Linked DNA regions of Homo sapiens: regions 2, 3, 4, 5, 6 and 7 are each linked to region 1. Evidence: promoter capture Hi-C in human tissues and cell types (Jung and others, 2019). All regions are on one chromosome and are shown on one strand. The core of a region is centred on a gene start or on the middle of the fragment in contact, and the rest is flanking DNA. Distances in the headings are between cores, read along the strand shown. Region 1 holds the start of RNF4 (ring finger protein 4). Region 2 overlaps LOC124900839. Region 3 holds the start of NAT8L (N-acetyltransferase 8 like). Region 4 overlaps ADD1 (adducin 1). Region 5 holds the start of ADD1 (adducin 1). Region 6 overlaps POLN (DNA polymerase nu). Region 7 holds the start of SH3BP2 (SH3 domain binding protein 2).

The links. The method cuts DNA at HindIII sites, captures the fragments that hold promoters and counts their contacts. A contact is called where the count stands out against the background at its distance.
Region 2: a contact is called between a fragment that was not itself captured here and the fragment with the promoter of RNF4 in region 1, in 4 of the 25 tissues and cell types used here (IMR-90 fibroblasts, aorta, dorsolateral prefrontal cortex and 1 more).
Region 3: the fragment with the promoter of NAT8L here is called in contact with the fragment with the promoter of RNF4 in region 1 in 1 of the 25 tissues and cell types used here (mesendoderm cells).
Region 4: a fragment that was not itself captured here is called in contact with the fragment with the promoter of RNF4 in region 1 in 1 of the 25 tissues and cell types used here (dorsolateral prefrontal cortex).
Region 5: a contact is called between the fragment with the promoter of ADD1 here and the fragment with the promoter of RNF4 in region 1, in 1 of the 25 tissues and cell types used here (dorsolateral prefrontal cortex).
Region 6: a contact is called between a fragment that was not itself captured here and the fragment with the promoter of RNF4 in region 1, in 1 of the 25 tissues and cell types used here (dorsolateral prefrontal cortex).
Region 7: the fragment with the promoter of SH3BP2 here is called in contact with the fragment with the promoter of RNF4 in region 1 in 1 of the 25 tissues and cell types used here (lymphoblastoid cells).

Annotation. Positions count from the first base shown.
Region 1 is chr4:2,467,711-2,470,673 of GRCh38, reverse strand. RNF4 (ring finger protein 4) reads right to left here and starts at 1,568. Exons shown (of 8, transcript NM_002938.5): 1 at 1,416-1,568. LOC107986250 (a long non-coding RNA gene) reads left to right here and starts at 1,723. Exons shown (of 2, transcript XR_001741551.3): 1 at 1,723-2,274. RefSeq lists enhancers at 926-1,045, 1,090-1,662, 1,346-1,705 and a silencer at 1,856-2,025. The HindIII fragment of the contact is 20,287 bases long and covers 1-2,963 here.
Region 2 is chr4:2,032,075-2,035,037 of GRCh38, reverse strand. The region is part of intron 1 of LOC124900839; the gene reads left to right. Among named protein-coding and RNA genes, the nearest start is that of NICOL1, 8.4 kb to the left of the region's middle. The HindIII fragment of the contact is 6,531 bases long and covers 1-2,963 here.
Region 3 is chr4:2,057,760-2,060,722 of GRCh38, reverse strand. It overlaps NAT8L (N-acetyltransferase 8 like), which reads right to left and starts at 1,396. Exons shown (of 3, transcript NM_178557.4): 1 at 836-1,396. The coding sequence starts at 1,211. The HindIII fragment of the contact is 12,290 bases long and covers 1-2,963 here.
Region 4 is chr4:2,862,492-2,865,454 of GRCh38, reverse strand. The region is part of intron 1 of ADD1 (adducin 1); the gene reads right to left. Among named protein-coding and RNA genes, the nearest start is that of ADD1, 20 kb to the right of the region's middle. RefSeq lists enhancers at 1,881-2,592, 2,593-2,963. The HindIII fragment of the contact is 4,367 bases long and covers 1-2,963 here.
Region 5 is chr4:2,842,279-2,845,241 of GRCh38, reverse strand. It overlaps ADD1 (adducin 1), which reads right to left and starts at 1,398. Exons shown (of 16, transcript NM_001354761.2): 1 at 1,218-1,398. RefSeq lists silencers at 937-1,086, 1,207-1,396, 1,457-1,836, 1,937-1,986 and an enhancer at 2,115-2,626. The HindIII fragment of the contact is 4,953 bases long and covers 1-2,718 here.
Region 6 is chr4:2,122,368-2,125,330 of GRCh38, reverse strand. All of the region lies in intron 19 of POLN (DNA polymerase nu), which reads left to right. Among named protein-coding and RNA genes, the nearest start is that of NAT8L, 65 kb to the right of the region's middle. The HindIII fragment of the contact is 8,083 bases long and covers 1-2,963 here.
Region 7 is chr4:2,791,611-2,794,573 of GRCh38, reverse strand. It overlaps SH3BP2 (SH3 domain binding protein 2), which reads right to left and starts at 1,489. Exons shown (of 13, transcript NM_001122681.2): 1 at 1,436-1,489. RefSeq lists a silencer at 1,422-1,771. The HindIII fragment of the contact is 44,064 bases long and covers 1-2,963 here.

The DNA of each region.
Region 1 (2,963 bases), core at 319-2,818:
AGTGAAAAATCTTACTCATTTTATGTACAAAGCACAGATGTGCATACATTATATAAAAAGAAATAGTTTACGTATGGCATTAAGATTTCATGAAGATTAGAAAAACAATGTTTACAAAAGGTCCTTACAAAGGTAGTAATTCAAGAAAAGATCAATAAACGATGTGTTAAAGTAAGATTTTTGGAAGCTCAAATTCAGGCAATACAAAAGCCAGCAATATATCTTGCTACTCGAATGCCTCTATTTCACCTCAAACTCACAGATAAAACTGAACCCAATATGTCCTTGTCCATTAAAAAGCAAATCACCAAGAAAGTAACAAAAGATTCCCTTCAATGTCTCTTTTATTGACAGTGGTCCCAAAACTCCTGGTCAATGAATTCAAAACCCAAATCTTGCAGGTAGGACTTAACCTCATCTGCTGCCAAATAGCTGGCTATGTGACCTTGGGCAGACCACTTCACTTTTCTGGACCTCAGTCTCCCCAGTCAGTTGGACAGTCTAAGCCAGGCTCCAGAGCTGAGACCCTACGTCTGGCTCAAGAACTTGGTGCAGAAACAGAACGAAGATTATTAAGTTTGTGAACGTCTATGGGAACTGACAAGTGAAAGACAAAAGCTGAAATCCCTACCAAAACGGCTTGCCCAAGCTCTATCCTTTTCCCTCTTCCCTCGATGGATCAAAGGCGGAAAAGCGGTGTTTACTAGCAACTCTGTTTCGGGTCGTGAGAATCTTCATACACCTGTCTATAGGCGCGCCAGAGCGGTGAAGGGCCCGAGCGGTGCAGGGCTGGGCCGCAAGCCTCACAGTCGCACGTTCCACCAACCACCAGCCGGGGCCCGGAAGCGCGCCCGGAAATCGAGGCCCTACTAAGTTTTAGACTGCGACCTCGGCGCCCCCACGGTCAGGCCCGCACCCGTACTCAGATCCTCCCGACCTACAAAAGGCCCCGCCACGCGGCCCACGCACCCCGGCAAACTCGCAGGCCCCACGATGGCGGGGCGGCGGCGCGAACACACAAAGGAGGCGTCGTCAGCGGGGAACAAAAACCCTGCCCGGGTCTTCCCCCTAACAGCACATCCTGCCCGACTTTCCAAGTGACCTTGGGGGCGTTCCTGCCCCTCCCAGAGTCTCAGTTTCCCTTCCTAGGCTAGGAACTAAGCCCCATGGCCGCGGCCCCCCAGGGTGAGCCGAGACCCAGACGCAGACCTCCTAACTTCTGTTGCCCGCGCCAAGCCGGGCTCGGTGCGCCCGCGCGGACGGCAGTGCGAGCGACCAGAGCTGGCTCGAGGTCCCGGGCTGCAAAGCCTCGGCTGGGTCAAGCCGCGCAGCGCGGCTCCCCCAAGAGGCGCGGGCCGAGGCCTCTGTAGGCCGCGAAGCTGCCTAAACCTCGCATCTGCAAGGCCCTGACTTACCGCTGCTTTCCCGCAAAGCTCGGCCTAACCTGGAGCTAGTTAGGTCCGCAGGCGCCACCGCCGGCGCACTCCGGAGAAGAAGCTCCTTCTTCAGCCGCCCAGGAGAGCTCCTCGAGAAAGATGCCGCCGCCTCAACAGCAACCCACTTCCGCTTCGGAGGCCTCGGCTCCGCCCCCCATCATGTCCCCATTGGCCGCCCGCCTACTCTACTTCCGCGGTCGGCCGGGTAAGGACAAATTTTTTAATCCTATTGGATAAGAAAACCATCTGTTACCACTTTAAAACGCGCCTCTTTCCGCCCCCGCCCACAATCGAGCGCACTAACTCGCACCTTCCGGCAAGAGACGGCGCGGGCGCGCCCCGCCCGCAAGGTTTTTCGGGAGTCACGGTCTGAGGGCGACCCGGGCGACCCGGTCGCCCGTGCCCGGCTGCCACTGACCGCTCCAACGCCGCCAGGGACGACCCGCCAGCTGCCTCCGGAGCCGAGCAGGCCCCGAACCTTCCCATTCCTAGATTTCCAGCCGCACAACAGCCGCGGTGCCCCTGGCTCGACGCAGCTGGCCGGAGGCGCGGAGCTGGTCGTTCGTCCCGCCCGCCGTTCCGCGCCCCTCTCCCGGCTCTTGTTTCCTCGCCTCTTAACGAGGCCTTTGTGAGGAAGGTTGCTGGGCCTTGGGACTCTGACGATCGGCTGGAAACCAGGCCTGGCCCTGTTTCAGCATCCCCGCGTGCCAAGCCCTGGGCCGGCGTGCGGGTCCCTGCCCCTGCGAGGAAGCTGGGACTTTTGCAGGCCTGGGTGGAGACGTGTACATAACAGAGGAAGAGTGTGGAGGATTGGAGGACTCAGGGCAGCACGGCAGAGGTGCATGCAGGTCCCCGGTCGGACTGGAGAATGGGCGGTGGGTTTCTTGAGCTCCAGTCCCTGAGCTCGACTTTGACGTGGGTTTAGCAACCAGGAAAAAAGCCCACCTTGTCCCTGCTGCCTGAGAATACCCAGACCTTAGTCCATGGCCAGCATCTCTGGTCCCTCGGCACCCTCAGGCAACGTGAAGGTCACCCCAAATGCCTTGGGTTACATTGTTTCCTTACAGTGAGTTTGTTTGTTTTAGTGGCGCGATCTCGGCTCACTGCAAGCTCTAACCTCCTGGGTTCACGTGATTCTCCTGCCTCAGCCTCCCGAATAGCTGGGATTACAGGCGCCTGCCACCACGCCCGGCTAATTTTCTTTGTATTTTTAGTAGAGATGGAGTTCCATCATGTTGGCCAGGCTGGTCTCGAGCTCCTGACCTCAGGTGATCCACCCTCCTTGGCCTCCAAAAGTGCTGGGATTACTGGTGTGAGCCACCTCGCCCGGCCACCTTACAGTGAGTTTCTAACCTCGAAAATGGAGTCAAATAACGGAATGACAAGGCAGATAGAAACCAGAGCATTAACGTTTTTGTGTTGCATTTACAAACAATATGTGTTTGCTATTTTTCGTAATTGTAAGGAAATCTGGCATGGTAGAGTATCTGATAGATAAATGTAATTCTCATGTAAAATATCTAAGTA
Region 2 (2,963 bases), core at 280-2,779, 440 kb after region 1:
CTGAAATATCAGACCCTTCTGCATGACACCCCAGATGTTACCCTTAAAGTATGTCGAGTTTTAAACTCTTCTCCCTTGTTGCTGGACTTCGTGTCCCAGGAAACAGATCCCCAACTCATTCACTCCTGTGTGGAAACCATAGAACAGACCTCCTCTAGCAGGCCTGACCTCAAAGATGAGCCCTTGAGCCCCTGCATAACCCCGATGTTGAGTGGCTCAGAGATGAAAGTGGTTTTATTCATAAGGGAGAAAGAAAGATCGGTTATGCAGTAGTTAGCCGAGAAGAAGGCATTGAGGCCAAAGCTTGACCTCCCCAGACATCTGCTCAAAAAGTGGAATTAATTGGTCTAATCAGGGTCCTCCAACTGAGAAAAGACTTAAGAGTCAACATATTTACCGATTCCAAATATGGGTGCCTGGTGCTCCACGCTCATGACGCCATATGGAAAGAAAAGGGAGCGCTAACAGCTAAGGAATCCCCCACACAGCATTGCTCTGAGATCTTGGAATTGTAGATGCTGTCCAGCTCCCAAAGGAGGTGGCAGTTACTCACTGCAGGGGACACCAAAAGGGGGACACCTCTATCATCCCGGAGGAAATGCCCTGATGGACAGGACAGCCAAGGCCACAGGTGAAGAACACCAGTGCTCCAGGCCACGGACTAATGCCAGGTACTGCACCCATGCCAGCAGCACCCTACTGTACTCCTGAGGAAAGTAAATGGGCAGAACAGATGGGCTTACAAGGCCAGGCGTGGTGGCTCACACTTGTAATCCCAGCACTTTGGGAGGCTGAGGTGGGTGGATCATGAGTTCAGGAGTTCGAGACCAGCCTAGCTAACACAGTAAAACCCTATCTCTACTAAAAATAGAAAAAAAAATTAGCCAGGTGTGGTGATGCATGCCTGTAATCCTGGATACTCGAGAGGCTGAGGGAGGAGAGTCATTTGAACCTGGGAGGCAGTTTTCCCTGGCCAGTGCTAGGGAGATTGTGAGGTTTGGACTGGGCAGAATTCCCCACAGCGCAGCACAGCAGCTGTGGCAGATTGTGGCCAGACTGCCTCTTTAACTGGGAACCAGACCCATCCCTTCTCACCCGAGCAGTGCCTCCCTGCAGGAGTTCCAGCAACTCCAGCCAGGGGTTTACGGACAGAACTTTCATCTCCCCAGGTCAGAGCACCTGGGGAGAGTGGTGGCCGCAGTCTCAGGTTGGACAGACTTAATCTTTCCTGCTTGCTGGCTCCCAAGAGTCCCAGTGACCTGGATGAGGGGGCATTCCCCCCAGCGCAGTGCACCCACACTGGTAAGGGGCAGCCAGACTGCTTCCTTAAGCAGGTCCCTGATCACATGCCTCCTGACTGGGTGAGACCTCCCAACAGGGGCCACCAGACACTTCATTCAGGAGAGCTGCAGCTGGCATCAGGTCGGTGCCCCTCTGAGACAAAGCTTCCAGAGGAAGGAGCAGGCAGCAATCTTTGCTGTTCTGCAGCCTTCACTGGTGATACCCAGGCAAACAGGGTATGGAGTGGACCTCCAGCAAATTGCAGCCGACCTGCAGAAGAGGGGCCTGACTGTTAAAAGAAAAACAGCCAGGCGCAGTGGCTCACGCCTGTAATCCCAGCACTTTGGGAGGCTGAGGAGGGTGGATCACAAGGTCAGGAGTTCGAGACCAGCCTGGCCAATATGGTGAAACCCTGTCTCTACTAAAAATACAAAAATTAGCCAGGCGTGGTGGTGGGCGCCTGTAGTTCCAGCTACTTGGGAGGCTGCAGGAGAATCGCTTGAACCTGGAAGGTGGATGTTGCAGTGAGGGAGCCAAGATCGCGCCACTGCACTCCAGCCTGGGTGACAGAGCGAGACTCCATCTCAAAAAAAACGAAAAAAAAGAAAATAAAAGAAAAACAAACAGAAAGCAACAACAACAACATCAACAAAAAAGACCCCACAAAAACCCCATCTAAAGGTCAACAGCCTCAAAGAGGAAAGGTAGATAAATCCACAATGAGGAAAAACCAACGCAAAAATGCTGAAAATTCCAAAAGCCAGAATGCCTCTTCTCCTTCAAATGATCAAAACACCTCTCCGGCAAGGGCACAGGAGTGGGCTGAAGCTGAGATGGATGAACTGACAGAAGTACGCTTCAGAAAGTGGGTAATAATATACTTCACTGAGCTAAAGGATTATGTTTTAACCCAATGCAAAGAAGCTAAGAACCACGATAAAACATTACAGATGGTGTTAACTGGAATAACCAGTTTAGAGAGAAACATAAATGACCCGACGGAGCTGAAAAATACAGCACAAGAACTTCATGATGCAAACACAAGTATCAACAGCCAAATCAACCAAACAGAAGAAAGAATATCAGAGCTTGAAGACTGTCTTGCTGAAATAAGGCAGGCAGACAAGATTAGAGAAAAAATAATGAAAAGGAATGAACAAAACCTCCGAGAACTATTGGACTATGTAAAAAGATTGAACCTACAACTGATTGGAGTACCTGAAAGAGACGGGGAGAATGGAGCCAAGTTGGAAAACACACTTCAGGTTATCCTCCAGGAGAACTTCCCCAACTTAGCAGGACAGGCCAACGTTCAAATCCAGGAAATCCAGAGAACTCCAATAAGATACTCCATGAGAAGGTCAACCCTAAGGCACATAATCATCAGATTCTCTAAGGTTAAAATGAAGTAAAAAATGTTAAGGGCAGCCAGAGAGAAAGGCCAGGTCACCTACAAAGGGAAGCCCATCAGACTAACAGTGGACATCTCAGTGGAAACCCTACAAGCCAGAAGAGATTGGGGGCCAATATTCAACATTCTTTTTTTTTTTTTTTTTGAGACGGAGTCTTGCTCTGTCGCCTGGCTGGAGTGCAGTGGCGCAATCTCAGCTCACTACAAGCCTCTCAAGTAGCTGAGATTATAGGCACATGCCACCACGGCCGGATAATTTTTTGTATTTTAG
Region 3 (2,963 bases), core at 147-2,646, 410 kb after region 1:
CTGCCCACGCTGGCCTACTGAAGCCAAGGTGGGCAGATCCTGGCAGGGAGCTGCCCCGCAGACCAGGCCCCGCGCGGGGGAGGGGGGAGGGGGGAGGAGGAAGGGGGGTGTCCCACGTTCCAGCCTCGGGCTCCAGGACCCCCTCTTCCCAGGGCCCCAGCAAGAGCCCTTCCTGGCCAGCGTCCGGGAGCTCTGAGGGCAGGGACAGGGCAGGGAGGCCCCACACCGCTTCCAGCCGCATTTCGGCTGCCGTGACCTTGGGGGAGTCGCGTCCTCCCTACGCGGCCTCAAGCGCCTCATCTGTAAAATGGGAGCGAACCCCCTCACCCCGGCAGGAAGCTCTGAGGGGAAGGGCACCCAAAGACGCTGAAGGGGCCGCCCTCTGCGACCGCCCCGGCTGTGCCAGGCGCGCGCACCCCCCGCGGCGCCGGCTGTCTTCCCCTCATAAATTAGCACCGAGCGGGAGGCGGCCTCCCCCGCCCGCAGATTATATTTAGGCACTCGCCGGGGCCCAGCCGCGGCGGGCGCTACCTGCCCTGGCACCCGCCCCCACCCAGGATGCCCGGGAGGGGACAGGGGAGGCGGTGGGGGTGGGGGGCTGCGCGGCGGGGACGCAGGTGCGGACCCCGGACCCTCCCCGGCTCCGGCCCGCTCGGGGCCCTGCGCCCATCCCCACGCCCATAGCCAGCCCTGCGCGGGGCCCGGCGCGGCAGAAAGCGGGGGGCTTCCCAGGCTGGTCCCCGGGAGCCGGGCGCGGGGTCCGCGTGGACGCCGGGGCGGGGGAGCTCCGCGCCGGCCCGAGGGACTGCGGCAGCCGGGGGCCCGGCGCACTGACCCGCCAGCAGGGCGTAGAGCAGCTGCGCGCGCGGGTGCTGCCGCAGGCCGCGGAAGGCCGTGTTAGGGATGCGCTCCATGATGCCGTCGTAGAAGATGCGGCGCGCCGCCTCCTGCTCGGCCGCACGGAACTCGCGGATGCACACGCCGCGCCCCCCCGGCGGCCCCGCGCCCCCCGCCCCGCCGTGAGGCTGAGCCACCGGGGCAGGTGGGGGCGCGGGGGGCGCGGCGGCCGGCCCGGGCGCGGCGGGCAGCGGGGGCCACATGGCGCCGGCGGCGGCGAGCAGCGCGTCCTTCTTGGCCCCCGGCAGCGCCTCATGGTCCTCGGCGGCCACGATCTTCGTCTCGCAGACCATGTCGGGAGGCCCACAATGCATGCACCCGGCCGGGCGGCGCGGCAGCGGGGACGCGGCCGGGCGGCGGCGGGCACGGCCGGGCCCAGGGCAAGGGCGCGGCGCCCTCGGACCCGCGGCGGCGGCGGCGGCGGCGGCAGCGGCGGCGGCGGCGGCGGCAGCTCAGGGGCGCGGGGCGGAGGCGGCGGGCGGCCGGGGCGCGCGCAGGGAGCTGCGCCGCATTTTGGAGAAGTATTTATAATGCGGCGGCGCCGGTGCAGTCGCGGCGCCCGCGGCCCGCAGGGTCCTAGCGTCCACTGCATTGGCTGCCGGGGGTCACCATGTGATCGCGGGGGTGGGGGAGACGCCGCCCCCGCCTCGCCGGGTGGCTCGCTGGGCGCGACGGGGCGGCCGGGCAGCGCGAGGGGCCCGGCACGGGCGGGGGCGGCGGCGCGGGCGGGGGCTCCTGGCCCGGGGGCGTCCGGCGGGGCTCGGGACCCGGCCGCGGAGCGCGTGATGGGCGCCGCCCGCCCCGCCCCCCGCTCCCACGCCGCGCGCCTGGGAGCGCCCCGACCCCGGGCCCGACCGCTGGCGATCGCGGCGCCACGTCCTCCTCCTCCTCCTCCGCGGCCGCCCGGAGCAGTCACGGCAGCGTCTCCCGCTCCGTCTCCTGCCTTTGTTTGAAAGCAGCGCCCGCGGTGGACCTGGGGAGAGGGCGCCGCGGCTGCCCCGGCCCGGAGCCCCCGGGAAGCCTCGTCCGGAGCCGCACGGGCAGCCGGAGTGGGGACGCGGAAGGGCGGGGTCTGCGGCCTGGCGCGGCGCCCCCCTGTCCGAGCCCCGCAGTGGGCACGGGGATGCGGGGCCCGCAGGACCCCTCCCGGCCCGGCCCCCGCCCCCCGCGGCCGCGCATGCGCCCCGTGGCCTCGGTGCAGGTGCAGCGGGGGCTCTGCGCCTTGTAGGACCTGCAGACGCCGCAGGCTGGGGCGGAGAAGCTCAGGTGCGGGGAGGCGGTCGCAGACCCCATCCTCGGCGCTTCTCGAACCTAGCCCCCTTCAGTTCTGCGCGACCTCCCAGCACCACCCCGAGGGCTGCCGGAGCAGAGCTTCCCCGACATGCGCGGGCGGGACGGGGCCAGGGGTCCAGGCCTGGGGACCCGCAGTCTGCGTTGTGCGGTGGAGTTGGGGCCAGCCGGGCAGCTGAGGTCACCTGAAGGCCAGGAGGGGCTGGGCCTGCCCGTGGACGTGGGAGTGAGGCCGCAGCGCCCTGGTGGGGTGGGGAGGGGCGGCTGAACTGGTCCACAGCCCCGTCCGCCAGAGAACGGGCCCTGGAGAGGGGCAGGGGACGGGGTGGGGGCGTGGGGGGGAGGGGAAGCCAAGCTGGGAAGGCGCCCCCTCAGTGTCTGGGGCCCGCTGTCAGCTTTTCAACCTAAAGGAGAAAACAGGCAAAACGAATAGAAATAGTTTGTTGGGGCCAAGTTTGAGGACTGCAGCGTGGAAGGACAGACTCAGGTTGGTCTGAATGCACGCGCTCTCATTCGCAGCAGTTGCAAGTGCGTTTTTAAAGGAAAAATGAAGACGCAGCTCCTAAATTCACCAAGAATTTGCATTAAAATGGCATAAGCTATTGATTGGTGTACATTATTTGTCACAAATTCCAGGAACATGAAGATGACGCTGAGGCGGCCAGGCGGACACTATAGGAAAGAAAAGAAAGAACAAAATGCCTTCCAGCAGTTGCCCCGGGCGTGAGTGGGGAGGCGGGACTGAGGCCCTGTACTCAGGTGTCTCTGGGCCAGAT
Region 4 (2,963 bases), core at 233-2,732, 390 kb before region 1:
TATTCTGTACACGCAAAGGCTGAGACATGAGATACTTCATTAACTCTGAAACTTCTGAGGATGGTGCCAGGTTTTCCTTTTTAGAGCTAGGCAGGAAGCATTTAAAAATCACAAAAATAAGCCTAAGAAGACTTGCCAAAGGTATGTTCATTGAAAATTAATTGTGTCAGCTGATGGAGACTTGAAAGTCTTTATGCTATCAAGTAATTATGAGTACACAAAATTTTAGATGGTCTAGTCTTCACAAAAACAAGGAAATACTGTCAGGCAGGAAAAAAAAAACAAGAGAAAATAGTGTATGTATGGCATCTTTTGTGGGGAGAAGGAAGAGAATAAGAAAAACATTCACATTTCCTTCTATTTGCATAAAGAAATGCAGGAAGAATATACAACTTACAATGGTGATTTACTTGTAAGGAGGAACAGGGAGCTGGGTGGATGGGGACAGAGATGACCAGGAGATCCTTTATTTGTTCATAGATATACACACACACATTTTTAAAGATTAATTTATAAAAGGGAAATTTACAAAATAATAAAATTTGAAAAATAAAACAAGTGAGGCACAATGGGGTCCAGGAGTTCAAATCCAGCCAGGCAACAAAGCAAGACCCCATCTCTTAAAAAACCAAAAACTCAAACCATTAAGAACGTGAATAAAATAATAAGCATCACTGAGAGCAATAAGCCCCCCTTCCCTGCTGACATCAGCGCCCCCCACCTCCTGGAGAGTAGACTCCAGAGGGAGCCAGGGACCCTGACAAGAAAAAGGAAGGAAGTGTAAACACCTAAGAGTGATTATAAGCATAGGGCCACCTGGCAGAAGGGCACACAGAGCAGGACTCCAAAAATCTCCTGAACTTGGCATCTCAGATACATTCTAATAAATAAAATAATAAGCATCACTGTGAGTATAAAATGAACAGAGGACACTGTTGGAACATTGTATTTTCAGCAGCATAATGATACAAAACATTTGTTTAAAGTTTTATATTTTACAATATAAATCCTGTTTTTTGTTTTGTTTTGTTTTGTTTTTTGAGGCGGAGTCTCGCTCTGTCACCCAGGGTGGAGCAATGGCACGCACGATCTTGGCTCACTGCAACCTCCGCCTCCCGGGTTCAAGCAATTCTCCTGCCTCAGCCTCCCGAACAGCTGGGACTACGGGCACACGCCACCACGCCCAGCTAATTTTTTGTATTTTAGTAGAGATGGGGTTTCACCGTATCGCCCAGGCTGTTCTCGAACTCCTGAACTCAGGAAATCTGCCCACCTCGGCCTCCCAAAGTGCTAGGATTAAAGGCGTGAGCCACCACGCCCGGCCATAAATTCTGTTATTTAAGTGTTTTAGCAGGATAGCCTTATCCTGATCTCACAGGTCATAAAATGTAGGTCCTCGGAGATTGTGTCTTACCCTAAGGTAGAGACAGTAAGTTAACCAAACTCTCTAGTTGACAGTGTATAGGGGTTAAATGTGCCCCACATGGTCTCCACTCCAAAATGATTCTGTTCATATCAGAATAGAATCTTTTCTTTCTTATCTTTTCTCTGGGACTCAGTTTTTCCATCTATAAACAGGGTATAGTAGCCAGGCACAGTGGCTCATGACTGTACTCACAGCTACTTGGGAGGCTGAGGCAGGAGGATCTCTTCAGCCCAGGAGTTTGAGACCAGCCTGGGCAACACAGTGAGACCCTATCTCTTAGAAAACAAAACAACAAAACAAAACAAAAAAAAACAAGGTGTAGTAATGGCAACCATGAGTGATACAGTAAAATCAAAAATGCTGTCTGGAAAGCATTTAGAGTGTTTGGCAGACAGCAGACACTCACTGTAGGGTGGCTAAGATTACTGGACAAACCTAAGAACCAAGTATCCTGGCTTCCAAGCCTATGAACTTTCCACAGCACCAAATTGCTTCTTGCAATGATTTTTACTGTCAGTGACAACTGAAAATTTCTGATCCCTGTCATAACACTTGGTCTCCAAAATACATTAAATACTGTTTCTCATATATATAATTTGCTTCTAATTATTACTACCACTTTCCTATATTAACATTCAAATAATTTCTGAAGTCTAAAAATTCCAAGTAAAGCCTTGTACAGTGGCTCACAACTGTAATCCCAGCACCTTGGGAGGCAGAGGTGGGCAGATTGCTTCAGCCCAGAGTTTGAGACTAGCCTGGGCAATATGGCAGAACCCTAGCTCTACCAAAAAAAAAAAAAAAAAAAATTAAAAATTAGCTGGGCGTGGTGGCATGCACCTGTAGTCCCAGCTACTTAGGAGTCTGAGGTGAGAGGATCACTTGAGCCTAGTAGAGGCTGTAGTGGGCCATGACCATCCCACTGCACTCTAGCCTGGGTGACAGAGTGAAGCTCTGTCTCAAAAAAATTCAATAGGCATGACAGTACTGAGGTAGAGGGGAGAAGCCACACTCCAGAAGTCTCTATAGTTGGGTCATGGAGAGAAGTGGCAGATCCCATGCAACTTTTCAAATGCAACTGGAGCAGAGTCAAAGGATGACAATCATTTTCATGGAGTCAGCACTCAGTCACCAAATATCTACCAAGCACTAACTGTGAGGCTGCTATAGACCAGGCATTGCTCAGCAATCCACATTCTCAGGGGACATCAATGAACAAAACAAAGATTTCTTACATTCCTGCAGGGAAGCCAGGCAATAAACATGATAAATAAGTAAATCACACAGTCTGTTAGAAGGCGACAAGTGCTATGGGTAGGGAACTGGGAGTCCAGGGGGTGGGGAGGTGAGTCACATCATTAAGTAGGAAGAGCAAAGGAAAGCTCCCAGAGAAGGGGACAGCTAAGGAAGGACTCACAGACAAACAGGTGGTGAGAGCACTAGGCCAGGTGGCCATATATCCAGAAAGGCACTCCAGGCAGAGAGAAAGCTAGAGCCAAAACTCCAGGTAAGAACTGGCTTTTGTTTGGGAATGGGA
Region 5 (2,963 bases), core at 149-2,648, 370 kb before region 1:
AATTAGCTGGGCGTGGTGGCGCGCGCCTGTAGTCCCAGCTACTCGGGAGGCTGAGGTAGGAGAATTGCTTGAACCTGGGAGGCGGAGATTGCAGTGACTGGAGATCGCGCCACTGTACTCCAGCCTGGCGACAGAGCGAGACTCCGTCTCAAAAAAAAAAGGTATCATCGCGGGCCTTTGTCCATTCAAGGCTCCAAAGTTTACAAACTCACTTTCATACAATTCACACCCTCTGCCTGAAATGCCCTCCTCTCTCTGGTGCCTGTTGAACTCCTACTCATCCACTCCAAGCTTGTTTTCACTAGGCGCCTCTACTCATAGACACAGTCGACCTATCAGCATTCTATTTCCTATCCCCATTAAGATCTCAGTCAATTTTTCACACAAAAAATCTTTCTTTAACTTACCAGTAATGCATACAGCTATCAGCTATGTCTTTGGTCTTTGGAGATATGACAATTGCTTTTTGTCTTTCTAAACATAAATTATGCTCAAACCAACAACAGTTTCAGGCGAACCAAAATACGTTTTTCAAGGTGGGTATGCATAAAGTGAATGCAAATTACCTCCCAACTATCTTGAGCCATTACAAGAGCAAAGATAAAAGTCATCCTAACAGGGAAAGGCCCTCTGACATCTCCCAAAAAACGAAAATAAAAGATTAAGAAAAAAGAAAAGAGAGGGAGGGCAAAGGTGACCAACAGCCCCATCGCTGATAAAGTTCCACGATTATCTCTCGAGCGTCCGTCGGCAGATATGGCTTTTCTCTTTTGGCAGAAGCCGTCGTTTTTAAATACGAGAGCCGACAGATGCGTCCGTACACAAACCTTGCAGCCACCAGCGCTGCGGACCGCGGAACCGGTCTCACAAGCAGGATGCTGACCAGCGTCCAGCCAGGGTCGTCCTCCTCCGCCCCCACCCCTGCAGCCCACAAGCCGGCCAGGAACGAGCGGCCCGGGAAAAGCCTAGTCCCCGGGGTCCTATCCCGATGAAAGATCTGCGGCGCCCTCGCTCCCCGGCTCGGCCCAGGCCGAAGGCCCCGCGGGGACCCCTCCAAGACGCCCTCGGCGCCGCAGCGGCCTCCCCGCCCCCGAGGCTGCCCGGGCCGCCGCAGGCCCCGCGGCCCCCGCCCGCCGCAACCGCGGCCCAGTTCCCCGCGCCCCCGCCGCCGCCTCAGCCCGAACCGGGCCCCCGCCGCCCCCGCTAGCTAGCCTCACCTCAGAAGCGAATCGTGGGCAGCGCGCGGGATTCCGGGGTCCCAGTGCGGCCACCGCCCGTCGGCTCCGGCTCCGGCTCCGCCCCCGTCCCCTGGCCCGCAGCAGCGGCCCGCCAGGCCTCTCCGCCCCTCAGCCCCTCCGCTCGCCCCCACCGCCCGACCTGGGTGCGGCCTGCGGCGCTGCAGCCCAACAACGCGCCGTCCCATAGGCCAAGCCGCGCAGCACTGCCGAGCAACGTACCCTGCGATTGGCGGGACCCATGAGGGGCGGGTCCCCTGCGGGCAGGGCGATTGGACTCGCCAGGCCCGCCTCGGGGCGACCCCGCCGGGGCCTGCGGAGGCCCAGGGTCCCGCGCGGAGTACACCCCGGCCGGCAGCTTCGGGCGCCAGGTCATGGCTTCACGGTGGCCAGGTAGACTGCGGCGAGCCCCTGCCGGGTCCGCTGGACACGGTTTCATTGTGATTGACCTCCGCCGGAGGGGCTGTCGGAGCCCAGGGACCCTGCCCTCCCGCCGCCGCCCAGCGCACTCCCCCAGCAGACGGGCCCTGCCCCGCGTAGCCCCGCCTTGTGCAGTCCCCAGGCCGAGTTTTGGGGCCCGGGTGGGGTCAAGGCAGCAGGGCCTGTGGGCCCCGATAAGGCTCCACAGAGGACAACTGCCTGGCCCCCGGGCCCGGCCTGCGGGTGCTGAGGAGACCAGCGAGCACCAGCCACCTCCGCACGACCAGGGAGTGAGCCTGCGGGGCTTTGGCAGGACCAGCCTCAGACCAGCACCTTCCCGCACACTGTCCCTCCTGCTGGCGCATCTGACACCCAAAAAAACAAGCAGCGAGACAAATGGGCACGGCTGCTTGTCCTCTTGACACCCATAGAAAGCTTAGGTCCAGAGCTGGGCAGTGGCAGAAGAGTGTGGAATCCAGACCTCCCTGCTCAGCAGGAGCCTCTGTGACATTGCCCCAACAAGGGTCAGGGATACTGTCTGGATGGAAGCCAGCGACCCCTGTTCTAACCATTTCTGTTGGACGTTGGCTTTTCCAAGACGATTTTTCTGACAAGATCACAATTCTGTCTCATTCACTTCTGCTTCCCATAGTTAATCACTAGGGAAACGCAAATCAAAACCACTGTGGGATACCACTTAACATTCATTAGGATGGCAGTTGAAGAAGCAGGGAGTTGGGCGCAGTGGCTTCAGCCTAAAATCCCAGCACTTAGGGAGGCAGAAACAGGAGGATAGCCTGAGCCCAGGAGTTGGCAGACTTGACTGGACAACATAAGGAGACCCTGTTCTCTACAAAAACGAGAAGAAAACAAAAAGTTTCAAGGGGGGAGAAGGAGGAAGAAGAGGAAAAAAAGAAAATAAGTGTTGGCAAAGATGCGGAGAAATTGGAACCCTTTGTGCATCGCTGACGGGAATGTAAAATGGTGTGGCTGCTGTGGAAAACCGTAGAGTGGTTCCTCAAAAAATTAAACATAATTACCACATAATCCAGCAATTCCACTTCTGGATATATACCCCAAAGAAATGAAAACAGCTATTTGTACCATGTTCATAGCAGCATTATGCAGAGAAGGAAATTCTATTTATTGGGGTTTTGTGCCTTTTTTTTTTTTTTTTTTTTTTTTTTGGAGTCAGGGTCTCTGTCGCCCAGGCTGCAGTGCAGTGTTGCAACCATGGCTCACTGCAGCCTTGACCTCCTAGGCTCAAGGGATCCTCCTGCCTCAGCCTCCCAAGTAGCTGGGACTACC
Region 6 (2,963 bases), core at 306-2,805, 350 kb after region 1:
CTCCGTATACCCTCCTCCCCCTCTCCAATGGCTCCTGTCTCAAAGGAGGGAGCTTCTCTGTTGCCAGGATAAGAACTGCAGTGCACATCTCCAGGAGTCGCCACATGTCTAGACCTGTGTGCCTGGCTCCTCCTACAGCTGTGCAGTGCACAACCAGCCCAGCCTTACATGGCAGCCTTCATCCATGTTCCTTTTATTTTCCATTTTTACTCTAGCATTGTTAACATATCCTTTGTTGATTTCCTCGTTCCCCTCTACTGGGGGACAAAAAACCTGCTTTAGGATTGCCCTAAATATAACCCTAGAAAGAAATCCTATCTTCAACCTGGTTGAAGACCTCATTTATTGCTTAGGTACAAAAGAAATCTATACTTACTCCCTTTACTTTCTCACTGCCAGCTCTTTCTTGCTTCTTAAAACAAACTTTCATTTTACCTACATAGGCGTTTATTTGTATTTGAAGCCTGGAGCTCCTCACATCTAAGACAATGATCGCCTCCAGGATGTGCCTGGCTCCGAGGTCCAGGGCCAGCAACAGCAACGAGGACCCCACCCCCAGCAAGGGACAAGTCAAAGCCTCCACAGGGTCTTTGTGGGTGTGCAGCATCCCTGGGCCCTGCCTGTCCCGGTGCTTTCTCCTGGTCTCTGTGCCCCCGCTCCTGGGAAAACATCCTTCTCCTAAGCTCTCACCATCTTTTAAAATCAAGATATAATTCACAGACCATAAAATTCACCTTTTTAATGTTACAATTGGCCTGGCACAGTGGCGCATGCCCATAATCCCAGTATTTGGGGAGGCAAAGAGGAGAGGATCACTTGAGGCCAGGAGTTTGAGACCAGCCTGGGCAACATGGCAAGACTCCCATCTCTACAAAAAAAATTTTTTTTTAAATTAGCCGGATGAGGTGGCACACGCCTATCCTGTAGTCCTGGCTGCTTGGGAGGCTAAGGAGAGAGGATTGCTTGAGCCCAGGTTGAGGCTGCAGTGAGCTATGATTACACCACTGCACTCCGCCTCGACAGAGCAAGAACCTGTCTCTCAAAAAATAAAGTTACAATCACGACTATCTAATTCCAGAACATTTCGATCACCCCAAAAAGAAAACTCATGCCCATTAACCACCACTCCCAATTCACCCCGCCTCCCGGCCCTGGAAACCACTCATCTACTTTCTGTCTCTAGATTTACCTATTCTGGACACTTCACATTAATGAAATTGTACAACATGGAACCTTTTGTATCTGGCTTCTTTTGCTGAACATAGTATTTTCAAGGTTTATCCATGCTGTAGGAGCTAACAGTACTTCATTCCTTTTTAAGGCTGAAAAATACTCTATTATATGGAATAATATATTCTATATATTTCAATATAAATAAGCAAATAATCCGTGTATTTATCTATTCATCAAATGTCCTTTGATGGACATTTGGGTTGTTTCCACTTTTTGTCAATTATGAACAATGCATTATGCACATTTGTATACAGGTTTGGTTTTGGTTTTGGCTTCGGTTTTGGTTTTTTTTTGAGACAAGGTTACACTCTGTCCCCTAGGCTGGAGAGCAGAGGCACGATCTTGGCTCACTGCAACCTCTGCCTCCCAGGTTTGAGTGATTCTCCAGCCTTACCTCCCAAGTAGCTGGGACCACAGGTACATGCCACCATGCCTGGCTGAATTTTTTTTTCTTTTTTTTTTTTTTTTTTTTTGAGACAGGGTCTCACCCTGTCGCCCAGACTGGAGAGCAGTGGTGCAATCTTGGCTCACTTCAACCTCCGTCTCCCAGGATCAAGCGATTCCTGCCTCAGCCTCCCGAGTAGCTGGGATTACAGGTATGCGCCACTACCACCCAGCTAATTTTTGTAATTTTAGTAGTGAGAGGGTTCCACTATGTTGGCCAGGCTGGTCTTGAACTCCTGACCTCAAATGATCCACCTGCCTCGGCCTCCCAAAGTGCTGGGATTACAGGTGTGAGCCACTGCACCCAGCCTAATTTTTGTATTCTTAGTAGAGATGAGGTTTCGCCATGTTGGCCAGGCTGGTCTCAAATTCCTGATTACAAAGCAACCTACCTGCCTCAGCCTCCCAAAGTGCTGAGATTACAGGTGTGAACCACCACGCCCAGCTGAGGTTTGGTTTGGTTTGGTTTGGTTTGGTTTGGTTTCTGAGATAAGATCTTGATCTGTTACCCTTAGTGGGAATGCAGTGGCTCACTCCCACTCACAGCTCACTGCAGCCTCAACCGCTTGCTGGACTCAAGCAATCCTCCTGCCTCAGCCTCCTGAGTACCTGAGACCACAGGCACATGCCAGCATGCCTGGCTAGATTTTTTTTTTTCTTTTTGGTAGAGGCTCTGTCTTCCTATGTTGCCTAGGCTGGCCTCAAACTCCTGGGCTCAAGCAATCCTCCCTCCTTGGCCTCCCAAAGTGCTGGGATTACAGGTGTGAGCTACCGCCCCTGGTCTGTGTGCAAGTTTTTGTGCAGACATACATTTAAATTTCTCCTGAGTGTATACCTAGGAGTAGACATGCTGGGTCATAAAATAATTCTATGTTTAACTTTTTTTCATTGTGGTAAAATACCCATCCCATAAAATTTACCATCTTAATCATTTAAAATGTGCAGTTCAGTGGTACCCATATTTAACTTTTCCATGACCTGCTAAACAATTTTCCAAAAATGCTGCACCATTTTACATTCCCACAGGTGTGTGGGGTTCAAGTTTCTCTGCATTCTCACCAATACTTTGTATTACCTGTCTTTTTGATTCTAGCCATCCTGGTGAGTGTGAAGTGGTATCTCATTGAGCTTTGACTTGCATTTCCTTGATGGGGATGGATGTTGAGCACGGTTTTGTGGGCTCATCATTTACTCTCTGTCCCTGCCCCTCCTCTACCTCTGAACACAGGTGCACCCTGGGGTGTTTTACTTGCCTCCCTTTCTCTGTGTCCCTCCTCCCAGAAGGT
Region 7 (2,963 bases), core at 240-2,739, 320 kb before region 1:
GTGCCTAACGCAGGGCACAGAGCCAGGCAAAGGGAGCCTGGCGGGTGGCAGGGAGAGGGGATAGACAGAATCCTCACTCCCTTGCAGCCCTCGTCCCAGGCCTCCTGTCCTGCCAGGAGTGGAGTGCCTGGAGTGGGGCCCTGAGGTTGGGCTCCAAGAGGGCCCTTCGACGGTGTCTACGTAGAGGAGACAGTGGACAGAGTGGGAAGAACCAGGAGGGGGTGGAGCCCAGCCCCTCCTCTGGTCCCACAGGGCCTGAGCCAGTGAGGGCAGGAGCTTGTCCAGGCTCATGGAGTTGGTGCAGGGCTGACCTGAACCCAGAGGCTTGCTTCGGCAAGGAGGAGGCTGTGGGCCCTGCCTTCAGGCGGTTGTGGAAACAATTCTACACATTGCATCACCGGCCCATGTCACCTGCAAGGCCACACACATGTCATCCAGGCAGGCTGTCCACCCCAGCAGCCCACACGGAGTACCCGCCCCTGGCCACAGCCAATTCGAAGGACTTAAGTGTGGCCACTAGACCAGGAGGCACAGCTGTCCCCAGTGTCAACAGATGAGCAAACTGAGGCACAGAGAGGGGATAGGAGGTGCTCACGGAAAGGAGCACCAGCAGAAGGCTCCCCACAGCAGGGCTCAGGCCCTCAATACCCCCAGGGAGCCGAGGCCCAGAGCAGCGGGAAAGTGCTGGGCTGCAGGGAGGCCAGCGTACAGGTGGAAGGGGCTGTCCCCGCCCCCTAACTCCTCCAGTCCCTCTGCCACCCCTGAGATTCCCTGTTGCCCATGAGAGTCTCAGACGCCCGGCTATCAGTCACTCACACTTCAGTGTGAATCAGCGCCAGTGGGCGGCTTTTCTTGCCCTCCGTGAAGCGCGGCCGCTGCAGAGGGAAGTTTGGATTCCGGGAAGGGCGGAGAGCGAGTGCCCGCCGCAGCCTTTGAGTCTTGTGGGGAGGGTCGCGTAAAGGGGCCCCGCCGCGGGGCCAGAGGGGCGCGAGGGGTGCGAAACAGACGCGTCGCACCGCCTCCCACCCCTGAGCCCCCGGCAAGGGACACCCGGCCCCCGCCCCGAAGCCGCGCTCCCTCGGGCACTGCCCGCCGTGCCCAGGCCCCGTGCGTCCTTTGGCAAGGACACGGAGGCCCCGGGGCCCGGGGGAGGCTGCTGCGCACCCGAGACCCCCGACACCCGCCCATACCTGCCGGGACCCTGAGACTCCCCCGAGACCTGCCAAGACCTGCCGGGACCCCTGAGACTCCCCGGAGACTCCCCCGAGACCCCCGAGACCCGCCGAGACCTGTCGGGACCCCGAGACTCCCCCGAGACCCCCGAGACCCGCCGAGAGCCCCCAGACCGCCAAGGCCCGCCGAGCCCCTTCCAGACGCGGAGACCGCCCCCCCGCGAGACCCCCGAGACCCGCCGAGACCCGCCGCCGAGGCTTACCCGCCGAGCGCTCTCCTGGCCCGCGGGCCCTGGGTCGAGGCGGCGGCTTGACTCGGCCGCCAGGCGCTCCCGCCCGCGGGACCCGCCGCCGCCGCAGCTCCGTCCCGCCCGCGCCCGCCCAGTCCGCCCTCCTCCTGGCCCCGCCCCGGCCCCGCCCCTCCCCGGCGGGTCCCGCAATCCTGGAGGTCCGAGCTGGGCGTGGGGCGGGGCCGGTACCTCAGGGTGGGCGGGGAACTGCACGTGGCCTCCGCGGCCCCGGGACGAGGCCCCTGGGGGGCGAAGACTGGCGTTGTCGCGGGCCTAGACGCCGGGTCCACAGTAGGTGCTTAGTTCTCGCCCGTGAGTGAGGTAGCGTGTCTGTCCCTCCTGCGTGTCCCTCCCAGTGACACCCCAGTGCCCAGCGACCCAGGTGGAAAGGGCGCTGTCCACCCCCCCAGCCCCGTGGTCCTGATCCTGGGCGGCCCCACCCCTGCCCCGTGAGTGCGACTTAGGCCCTGGCCAAGACAGGAGCAGGGGAGGTGGGGGAGGGCTTGCTGGGCACCAGGAAACCTTGTCTTTGTTTCCAAATGTCCTCCAGGGTACTTTTCAGGCACTTCCCAGGGGGACCTCGCCTCTTGGACCAGGTCTGGACTCCGGTGGCCCAGAGGTCGTCTTGGGGCTGGGAGGCACAGGAGACCGGGTGCTTTACACTTGGCCTCCTCTGAGGCTCCCTTTCCTCCACCATCACCCTCTCCCTAAGAGTAGGCCCAGATGCCTTGGTGTAAGGGCAGGGGCGAGAAGAGGAGGGGCTTCCTGGGAGGAAATGGCTTCCCTGGGGAGCTCTCAGGGCCAGGTAGGTGGAGGGAGCCGTGGAGAAAGTGAAGAGGCTGGGGAGACCAAGCTGGGCCTGCAGAGCTTGAGGGCGAGCGGACCCCCCACCAGTGCGGGAGTCAACTGCTTGGGGCGTGGGGGGACTCCTCCCCATGAGGAGTGGGGACTGGACCCCAGGTCCCAGAGCCCAGGAAGCTGTGAGTAGAGGAAGGACAGGATCTTGCTGGGAACCCAAGGGAGCTGGGGGTGGGTGGTGGTGACCTGGCCCTGTCCAGGCAGGCGGCCAAGGTCTGACCCTCTGTACTGAGCACAAGAGGCCAGAGTCCAATGACAGGGGCTGAATTGGCTGCTCCAAATCAGGCAGGGGCAGGGGTGTCCAGGGCTGGCCCTGCAGCAGGTGAAGGACTGGGTTTGGGTCCTACAGGTTGAAATACCTGAGGGCCTCCAGGAGACACAGCCAAACCAAGCGGGTTCTCAGGGTTGCAGCTGGACCGAGTGTGGGCCAAGTCACCGTCCACCTGTCCCAGAGCTGCCCAATAATGGGTCCCAAGCCTCAGAAAGGGGATCCCTGGCTGCAATAGCCCTCCTCCCTGCTGGAGAGACACACTTGGGATCAGAGAGGTTAACTGGGGAGGGGAGTAAGTGGGAGGAGTCAGAAAACTAGGTGGCCAGGCCCTGAGCCCAGGCATAGAGGAAGAGCCAGTGCCTACCAGGAAGT